2 separate regions of the Homo sapiens genome follow, and region 1 is linked to region 2. The links are contacts of gene promoters, found by promoter capture Hi-C in blood cells and fetal thymus (Javierre and others, 2016). All regions are on one chromosome and are shown on one strand. Each heading gives the region's core, a stretch centred on a gene start or on the middle of the fragment in contact. The rest is flanking DNA. Distances are from core to core; before and after follow the strand shown. Region 1 overlaps POLR1F (RNA polymerase I subunit F). Region 2 holds the start of MACC1 (MET transcriptional regulator MACC1).

What was found. The method cuts DNA at HindIII sites, captures the fragments that hold promoters and counts their contacts. A CHiCAGO score of 5 or more calls a contact.
Region 1: a fragment that was not itself captured here is called in contact with the fragment with the promoter of MACC1 in region 2 in 3 of 17 cell types (fetal thymus, erythroblasts and total B cells); the score reaches 7.9 in fetal thymus.

The regions. Positions count from the first base shown.
Region 1 is chr7:19,699,982-19,704,982 of GRCh38, forward strand. It overlaps POLR1F (RNA polymerase I subunit F), which reads right to left. Exons shown (of 4, transcript NM_001002926.2): 2 at 4,798-4,939; 3 at 91-299. Among named protein-coding and RNA genes, the nearest start is that of MIR3146, 3.0 kb to the right of the region's middle. The HindIII fragment of the contact is 2,320 bases long and covers 2,482-4,801 here.
Region 2 is chr7:20,215,380-20,220,593 of GRCh38, forward strand. It overlaps MACC1 (MET transcriptional regulator MACC1), which reads right to left and starts at 2,005. Exons shown (of 7, transcript NM_182762.4): 1 at 1,920-2,005. It overlaps GIRGL (glutamine insufficiency regulator of glutaminase lncRNA), which reads left to right and starts at 2,198. Exons shown (of 4, transcript NR_134569.1): 1 at 2,198-2,243; 2 at 2,877-2,984; 3 at 4,204-4,377. RefSeq lists enhancers at 1,830-3,029, 4,449-4,598, 4,515-5,044, 4,609-4,738. The HindIII fragment of the contact is 5,395 bases long and covers 1,939-5,214 here.

The sequences.
Region 1 (5,001 bases), core at 2,392-4,891, 510 kb before region 2:
TCTCTTTAAAATTAAAATAAAATTCTCTTTAAAATTCAGAATTAAATAGAAATTAAGTACCTAGTGATAATTACGTAATGATAAACTAACCTTGTGATATTTAGTTTTCCCCGAATGCAGAATACTCCAGCAGCATCTGAGTCTAAACGAAATACTTCAAATTCTAGTTCATCACCCATGTTTATCTCCATGGTTTGCCACTGCTCAGCTGACAACTGCTCAGGTTTAGGAATGGAGGCATTGAAACACCCATGTACTAAACAGCCAATGTGGCTAGAAGACACTTTATTAACTATACCCTGGGAAGAAGAAGGAAGAAAGAGCGTAACATAAAGAACACATCCACAAAGTTAAAAGGTGAACCAAACTTTACAAGCTTCAAATAATCTTCAAAGAACAAACATCAAATTAATGGTCTAATTTAATATGGAAAAAGTTTACCTCAATTAAAACTTACCACATGTCATGCCAAAACATCACTTTAGAATACCACTGGGTTTTGAGAAAGCTCAAACTTTATTATATAAGTAATTGCACATTAACTGTCTAACTGGGCACATTAACTTTCTAACTGGATAAACTAACCTGCCCCCGCCACCCTGTCCAAGAAAAAAAACCATCTCAACTCCCCACTGCAGGATTCCTTAGGGAGGACAGTATTACTCTTTAGCTACATTGAAACCAAGCAAACCCCATATAACTTCTAAAAAGACCTCATATGCGTTTTATAACTGGGATCCATGTTACGTTTCTGTAAATAGACCAAATTTCAAAGCTTAAAAATGCATTCTTTAATTATTTAATTTAGCATGATGCAAGCATTCCATTAGAAGACAGCTTACCCTTTAAATGTAAATATTGACCATGACTATTTTTTGGCTAAATCACGAAAGTATTATTAGAAGCTTTAAAACTAAAACAAAAGTATGTGCTATATGATTTTAAGATGAGACTTTGCATAAAACTTATTTTTCTTCTCAGGGTCAATATATACAAAGCATATAAATGAGACTCAGAAATATTAAAAATTCACATTTTCTGAATTATGAAACTGCAAATAATGCCGATGTGTATACAATGCTGTTTAACATCAGCAACCCTTTACACATGTGACAGAATAAAACTTCCCTATCTGGTATGATCAGAAGTCTAGTGTTCCCACTGGTAGTTTCCAGATGGTCTAGATAAACAAACTGGTACAGCTATAAAATAAAAGATTATTCAGTAATAAAGATAAATAAGTTCTCACCATAAAAAGACATAGCGAAACCTTAAATGCATATTGCTAAGTGAAAGAAGTCAATTTGAAAAGGATACATACTCTATTCTTCTTCTTTAAAAAGGCAAAACTACGGAAACAGTAAAAAGATCAGTGGTTGCCAGGGATTACAGGGAACGGAGGGAAGAAGGGAGAAATGAATAGGTGGAGCACAAGCGGTTTTTAGGAGAGGATAACTATTCCGTATCATACTATAATGGAAGATAAGTTGTTGGGATTCACTCAGGATAGTGGCAGAAATATTAAAGGGAAATATTAGGGAAAGTTATAGGGAATAGTCACAAACCTTTTTGGAAGGCCAAAAGGTTACATAGCTTGTAATAGCTGAACAGGCCGAAGACAGCCGGTTCTTACCTTAGAGCATTAAGTTACAGAGTAAATACTAGGGACAATAGAGGCTTCCCCAGTTAAGTCTGTTTACCCTACCTCTGTTAACTAACCTTTAAGTCAGATGGCCTCTGGGGGGGCAGGGATATTGCCCCCAGTGATATTTACTTTAAACCTCGGTACCTGAGCTTTAATCATTCATAGAACTACTCACTTAACCATGTTAATTATCCAAAAGTGTGTGGACTCAGAGCTTCTGTTGTTAATTGTATACGAAATAAATGCCTGGAGTGTGAACTACTCAGGGCCAGCGGCAGTGACAAACCTCTCTCGGTGTGTAGGCAGTCGGACACTCAGCAGTACTGGCAAAGCAATATCTGTGTGTCAGTGTACGTTTCATTCATCCATCTTTTAGGTCAAGGTCTGCAGGCAGACCCCCGCAGCTAATGCCCTCTTGTGAGGAGCAATACCTCAATAAATGCCATGACACATTTGTGGAAACTCATAGAATGTACAACACAAAGACTGAACTCTAATGTAAACTACAGACTTTACTTGATAATAATGTATCAATATTGGCACAAAAATGGTAACAAATGCACCATACTAATGCAAGTTAATGTTGATAATAGGGGAAAGGGGGTGGTTATATGGGAACTCTATACTCTCCATTCAATTTTTCTGTAAACCTAAAACTGCTGTTAAAAATATGTCAATTTCAGAAAATCAATGAAAGAAAAGGTTTTTTAATATATGAATCCAGAACAACGGGAAAGCTACATGAAGGAGAGAGTGGATCTCAAGGCCTACCTCACACTACACACAAAAATTATTTGAGAATGATCACAGACTTAAATGGAAAAGCTAAAACTAAAAGCTTGTAGAAGTCGACAGAACAGTATCTGCACAACTTTTCGGCAGACAAATTTCTTTGATAGGGTCCAGAAAGCAATAGTCATAAACATATAAAATGATAAATTGGACCTCATCAAAATTAAAAGTAACTGTTCATCAAATAATACCATTACAAGTTAACAGACAAGTCACAGATTGGAAGAAAATATTCAAAATACTTATCTGAAAAGAATTCATTTTAAGACTAAAAAGAACTGCTATAAGTCAATAATAAAAATACAAAAACCCAATTAAAAATGGGCAAAATACTTGAACAGGCCCTTCTTACTGAAATATATGAAAAATTGCTTATGAGGGAAACGGAAATGCAAATTAAAACCATAATGAGATACTACTATATGCCCATCAGTACAATTAAAGGACAATAGCAAATGTTAATAACGATACAGAGTAAATGAAGTGTTGAATGGGAAATCAGTCTGACAATGGTTTTATATAAATACCCTGTGAACTAGCTCTTCTGCTTCTAGTTATTTACTTAAGAGAAATGAAAATGTATGTTTTCATTCATATGTCTGAAAATATATGTTTTCAATAGCTTTATTCATAAAAGCCCCAGCCTGGAATCAATCCATCAATGAAGACAGATAATTATATTGTGATATAGTCATATAACTGAATACCATGAGCAATAAAAAGGAACAAACTACCAATACACACAACAGCATGGATGAAACTCAAAAACATGCTGATCAAAAGGCGGCAGATTTTAAGAATGTATAATGAATAATTCCATTAATATGGAACTATAGAATAAGCAAAACCAACTTATGATAAAATCAGAAGAGTAATTATATCTGCAATAAAGAGAAGGAATTGGGCCAGGAAAGGGCATGAAGATCCTTTCTAAGGAGATGGAATGGTATACAGACCTGACGAAATTCACTGAACTGAACAATATGATCTGTGCATTTTATTATATGTAAATTTTATCTCACCAAATATTAATAATAATAATTGAAGGAAAAGTGGGTGGTCAAAAATATTTGAGGAGTGGATCTTGTAGTAGGTAGATTAAAAGGGATATTTTTCATTTCATACTTTTTCTACAATCTGTTATTTCCATGTACATGTATATATGTTATTTCCGTGTATGTGTGTGTGTATTTTTACAGACAGGGTCTCACTGTTGCCTAGGCTGGAATGCATTGGCGCAATCATAGCTCACTGCAGCCTTGAACCCCTGGGCTCAGGTGATCCTCCTACCCCAGCCTCCTGAGTAACTGGGACTACAGATGCATGCCACCATGACTGGCTAATTTTTTATTTTGTGTAGAGATGAGGTCTCACTATGTTGCCCACGTTGGTCTTAAACTCCTGGCCTCAAGTGATCCTCCTGCCTCAGCTTCCCAAAATGCTGTGATTGTAGGTGTGAGCCACTGTGGCTGGCCTACATGTTTATATTTAAAATAATAATTTACACAAAGTAGATGAAAGTTAAGTTTGTTAATTTCCAAATACAAATCTACTGCCAACTTTAGTAGTCCAGTTATAAGATCCCAGTTTAACAGGCAAAGGATACTACTTGTATTAATTTGATATTGAAAAATGAAAAAAATTGGAAGTGTCTTGTGGGTTTTGTCATGGTTAAATTGATCTATATTTTTATGAACAATATCAAGGGTTAACAGTTCTGATCTATTAAAATATTTATCAGCTAAGGAAAAGAACATATACACACACATACAAGTATACATACGAACATGTGTATACACACAGAGAACTGCTGGAGGAAGAGAGGAGAAAGTAAAGAGTAAAAAAGGATCTATTTCAGCAGATTTTGTATCAATATCTGCATTTCCAGCTTATGAAAAACTGGAAGACCTTTCCCACAGAGCTTCCATTTCCAAGGCACAGACTGGCTGCCCTGTCCTCTGTCATTGATAAATTTTCATTACTGCCTGGCCCATTTGAATTCCTGTTTCATATACTGCTATATTCTTTGAATCCTTTATAAAGAAATAGTATTTGTGTAGAATTGAGAACTTTTGAAATAATAATGATAATTGATTTTTTTGCCCTTAAAATCATTCTGCTACTATGAAAAGAATAAAGTGGATGGGACATATATCGTGTGCATGTATGTGTTTTAGGAGGATATTCAAAAACTTACCTACGTTTGAATGATACAAATTAATTTTTCCTTAAAAATAATATTTATTTACTCACAATAGCAATTTATTTGAGTCCCAAGGTATATATTATCTCTTAAAATGTTCCAAGTTACATAATTATAGAATTATACAAAGGGAGCTAGAAAAAAGTGATACACATACCATAAGCTTCTGCCCTGGTTCAGGGCAGAAAATAACAAAATCGGCTTCAATGTTAAGATGAATGTGTCCTTGATCATCATAAATATCTCCAAGCTCTCCCACAACTTTGATGTTATCATATGCAATAGGGACACCTAAAAGGCTGTAAAAAGAAAAAGTTGAAAATGATACCTTTTATCGTCTTTTATTTATTTATGTTTTTGG
Region 2 (5,214 bases), core at 755-3,254:
ATTGAATGAATGACACTTCCTAGAGACACTACACCATAGACGGCACTTGACAACAACAAAAAAAGCCACCCTTTTAGAAGTATACAGTGTTCAGTGCCTCTGCAGCTTTCCTCCACCTTTGGAGAATTACAAGTTTCATTCTAATTCTATCCTGGACTTGCTGACATAGGGTTTACATTTATTAATATATGGCATATCACATGTAAAACTCTGCACAGTCATCTGAAATGCTGGTTGTTATCACCTTCACTTATCACCAAATGCCATAAGGGATGTTTAGTCTTAATAGACACCTAGGCATATGTGTGGTCTTTCAAGAAAGAATTCTCTAAAAATTCAACAGACATGTCTTCAAGTTCAAAATTAGTATAATTCCAAAATGTCTTTTGTCCTCCAAATCAGCCAATACATTTTAAGATAAGATGGTGTTTAACAAACTTTGCCTTAATAGTTTTTATTATCTCTAAAACACAAACAGATAAAAATATTCTATTTGTAAATTAGCTACAAGGAAGTTGAGAAAACTGGAATAAATAATATTTTTGCTTTAAGTTTTAAAAATGAGTCATAACTAAAGCTTTTAAGCAAATTGTAACTAATAATTATGACTTCATAATTTCTAGATTCTGTACACTACCCATGAAATCATATTAAAAATCGCTATTATGAATAAAAGATAATCATGTAATTAAGTTCAGGGGGGCATAAAAGAATCACCACTGAGGTTAAGACAACTTTAAGAATATACCTGAAATTCATCATTATCACCCAGTAATTGCTATGTAAAAACCAGACATTAACATAGATAAGTCAATATCAATCCTAAATTAGACCCACTGAATATAGACTTAAGACATTTTTAGGAAATTAGGAAGACCTTTAATAAATGGAAGGCATTGGAATTTTCACTACATGCTTTTTGATCTTAAAAATAAATTTTTTAAAATCTATCTTTATTAATTGTGGTAAAAAACTTAACATACAATTTACCATCCTAACCATTTGTAAGTGTTTACACTTACAAATTTTAAGTTCAATAGTATTAAATATATTTACATTATTGTACAGTCTCCAAGTGTTTTCATCTTGTAAACTGAAACTCTATATCCATTAAACAACTCTCATTTCTCCTTCCCCCAAGCCCCTGGCAACTACCATTCTAAGTATCATTTATGTGAGTTTGACTACTCCAGATACCTCAGGTAAGTTGAATCATCCAGTATTTGTCTTTTTGTTTCTTTGGTGTGTTTTCCAAGCTTAATTGAAACTTAATTAGGATGAAGCCAAGTTACCCTCCATCATGTATCATCTGTCTATTCAGTACAATGCACTGTGCTAATTTAATGACCCCCTTAACTTAATTACATGATTATCTTTTATTCATAATTTAATGCTATTAACCTAATGAGGTAGGTTATGCACACACACTTTACAGATGAGGAAACTGAGACTTTGCGAGGTGAAACATCTTGTCAATGGTCATAAATCTAATAAGCAGTGGGGCTGCTGATTGCAACTTTATCTATCTTCAAAGCACAGTCTTTTTAACATACCTGTATGCTTTTTGAGATATTTAAAGTTTTTAGGGGATTTCAGCCATCTACATATTTTAAGCAACTCATAGAGTGTTTTGTTTTTGCCTTTGATGGTTAATGTGACCTGGGTTCCTCCTTTTTTTTAAAATAAACTACTTTATTCTAAACCATGTCTCAAGGTATTATTCTATTCTATGTCATGAGGTTTATTCTAACACATGTCCCATAAGCCCACAGAATACCAGTTACCTTCCCTTTATTTAAGCAGGGCTTGATTTGTTAAGCAGCTGGTTTGTTACATTTTTCTGGAAATTATACAACTTCCTAGTGTGTAGCACATATCAATAGTGAAAGGAATATTATTTTTAAAAAATCAGCACTTACATTTGTGGAAGTGAGCCCAAGCTTCTTCAGTTCAGACACATGGTTTTAGTGAATAGAAGTCACTCTACCAAACCCGGGTACTCTTCAAACATGCCTTGCTCCGTATGCAGGCAGGCAACTGCACCCCTGCTTCCTGAGCCACCTGGGACTTGAAGTTCTACCACTGTGGCTCCAAAGCTGCCCAACTAGAAACCCCAAAAGGCAAGAGAACTACGATACCCACAATTCAGGCTCCTCACCCGAAACCAGAAGAGGGCGTATGGCTAGAGTTTCACCCTAAGAAGAAAGGGGAAGCAGGTGGAAAAGCAATTAAAAAAAAATCAGGTGAGTATATCTAAGAACCATCTGTAAATATAATCTTATTTCCATGAAAGGAAATAAAAGTGGTTTAATGTTTGCCAGGGAGTAAGAAGGCACCCTCAGTGTTAGCAATAAGTAAAAAATATTTATGCAAGCAAATCCTCATGCAGCTGGAACTTGCCCCACCAGATTCTCTTTCGGTGATTCAGAGCTGAAGGTGCCTCACTGCCCTGTGGAACAGGTGAATAAAGCCTTCCCAGGTGAGTGACAGTGTCTAACTAGTTCCCCCTTTCCCTCTACATCAGCACTGTGATTGTCACTCAAAGACATAGACATATAGACATAATGGAGACCTTTTGGCATTTCATCTTCTAAAATGCTCTGGATTTTTAAGATAACACTTTAAAATGTGCCTTTTAAAATATAAGCAAGAATAAAGTTTTCTTGATATTTTCTTCCATTTTACTTTCCATTTCTGTGTTTTGTGTTTTCCTTCTGTGTATTTTGTTCAAAATTCAAGAAAGAGAAAATTAGGGGAAAGGGGAAAAAAGGTAAAACTTAGTGAAATGAAATGTGCAATAATTGTTTCACATTTTTTTCCAACATCAGCAACAGAGAATGTTTAAAACAAATGTGTTTCTCTATTTGTTCATACAGCATCTCTCTCTAGCCTATTATCTCCTGTTAGACACAGCCCAGAAAATGAATAGAGACAAGTCCTGGCTGGGTCTGGGTTCAGAAACATAATAGAAGGATTCATCTAATGTAAGTAGATGGCAGAATGGTGACAAAGAAAAAGTTTCCTTTCCCTTTTCTGCACTTTCTCTCCTACTGTTCTAACCACCCCTTCCTCCCTGATGCATCCCTGGCTTCATGCTGCCAGATCACCTAATCCACCCAGATTCCCTTTGAAGTTTCCCCTTGACTCATCCCACAATCCAAACTGAGCTGTTCTGTTTCTTTTTGTCACAGGTTCCTCAACTCTCTACTAGAACCTAGCTTTCCTTTATGTCATTATATTATTTCCAAAACAAATGGTTCTTAATTTCCCCAAACCCTACAGAGGGCATTCTGCATGGCATTTCTCCTCCCTGAAACCATTTTTGCTCATCTTGAAATGTTCAGAGATTTCATTTTTTCCAAAGCTCAATGAAAAACACTCTTCAAGATGTCCTTCTCAGTTTGTCTTAATCTGAGTTATTCTCTTCCTCCTAATCAATTTCATAATATTGCATCTGCTCCTCTCATAACACATTGTATATCTCATTTCATTGGTTTACATGGGTGTGTGTGTACCTATGCAGTCTTACATTCCTATTTGAAGGCAAGGCCTCATTGTATCCCTACTTCATTAACTCATTAATGTACAAGTAGATGTTTGTGATAAACAATCAACACATAAAATAACTGAGATGTTAACTCTAAGGTGTGTGTGTGTTAATGCCTAATGCCATCTTTATGTCTCCCGGAAAACATTTACATTTAAAAAGCTACCTAAATGCCATGCATGAGTACTGTTATCAGAATCCCCCTGCAGTCTGGTCTGGTGTGGCTCCCACAGCCTTTATTTGCAGAAAGGCAAAGCATTAAATCTAGCAATTGAACCCTTGACAGTACCCGAAATGAAAGCCCTAGTGGGTCAGCACTCACTGTTTACCAGCTCCAATCCCTGCTGTGCACTTGCCTTTCTAACAGCTCCCCAAGGACTGGGCTCCCTAGAGTCCTCAGTCCCATGGTCCTGGAAACCTGGCCCTACCTCTATCTATGATTTTTGATTATCAGCTCCAGCATTTATGGATCCCTTCTCCTATTATCTAATCTACGGGCTCTAAAGATTAAACTGTGCACTTTGGACTATTTAAATAGTTCTTAACCACTGATCTCCTCCCTCAGGGAAGGGAATTCTTTCCACAGTTGCTAGTTCCTCACACCTCTGCCTCTATGGGATTCTCCTGGTCCCCACATGCTCTGCTGTGTCTTCTAGCTGTCGGCCACTGTGGAGGAAGTGAACCTTCTAGATCCTGCTGACTCATACAATGAGTTTTGTGTGGACCATCAGACAAAAGGGCTGGCTGGTGAAGGTGGCTGTTGTCTGGAAATTCCTCCCAGCTCTCCTCTAATTATGTCATAAGGACTGGAGGCCCCTTAGCCTGCTTGTGTGAGTATCACCAGCTATGTAAAGTTGGGGCCTTAGCTCATCCTCAGCACATGGCTCAGGATCACTTCCTTAAGAAAGTCTCTTCTGACCTCCTTACCCCTACCATGTTTCTTGTACTGACTTACGCAATGGTCACAACCAACATAGAAGCTGAAATCCCAATGACTCACTGTCCCAGCTGCGCTTGTAGATAAGGGAGAGGCAAAGCACTTAGAATGGCAATCAGACATGGCTATCTGGGACCAGGAATTAGGAACTGCTGACACAAAGAAGCAGGGACAGAAGAGAACTCACTCTTGTGGTGAGCAGAGGCAGCTGTGCAAACAACCTGCTGTTCCGGATGTGACTGTGGTGGCCGTGGGGTGCAGAGTCCAGGGCTCATGGCGTTGGTCATGCAAATTGTGGTTCCTGGGCCTTAGCAGAAACAAGGAACCTATTCAGTGGCATTGCTTTGGGGGCTGCTCTGGCTTCGTAAGCTGTGTGCCTGATTCTTAAGCCCCTCCCAGCAATTCTGGGACTGAAGTTTGGTGTGTTGCTCTTCGGTTTAGATCTGCCACAGTCATTTGCTGTTGCTTGAAGCTAAAAACTCTGAGTGATACGAACCTCTCACACAACTCTTACCACGTTGTCACTACCTACCCCAGTATATTTAGATTCCATCAGATCAAGTACTGGATTTTATTTATCTCTAAATATCCTAAATCTCCACAGTGCCTGGAGTACATGTATATATATTTGACCTACATTAAACTGGTCAATAAAATGAGGAAGTCTTGCTTAAAGTTCCTTCTAACTTAAAATTTGCCTGACCACATGGAAGCTGTCAGGTTGCTCATT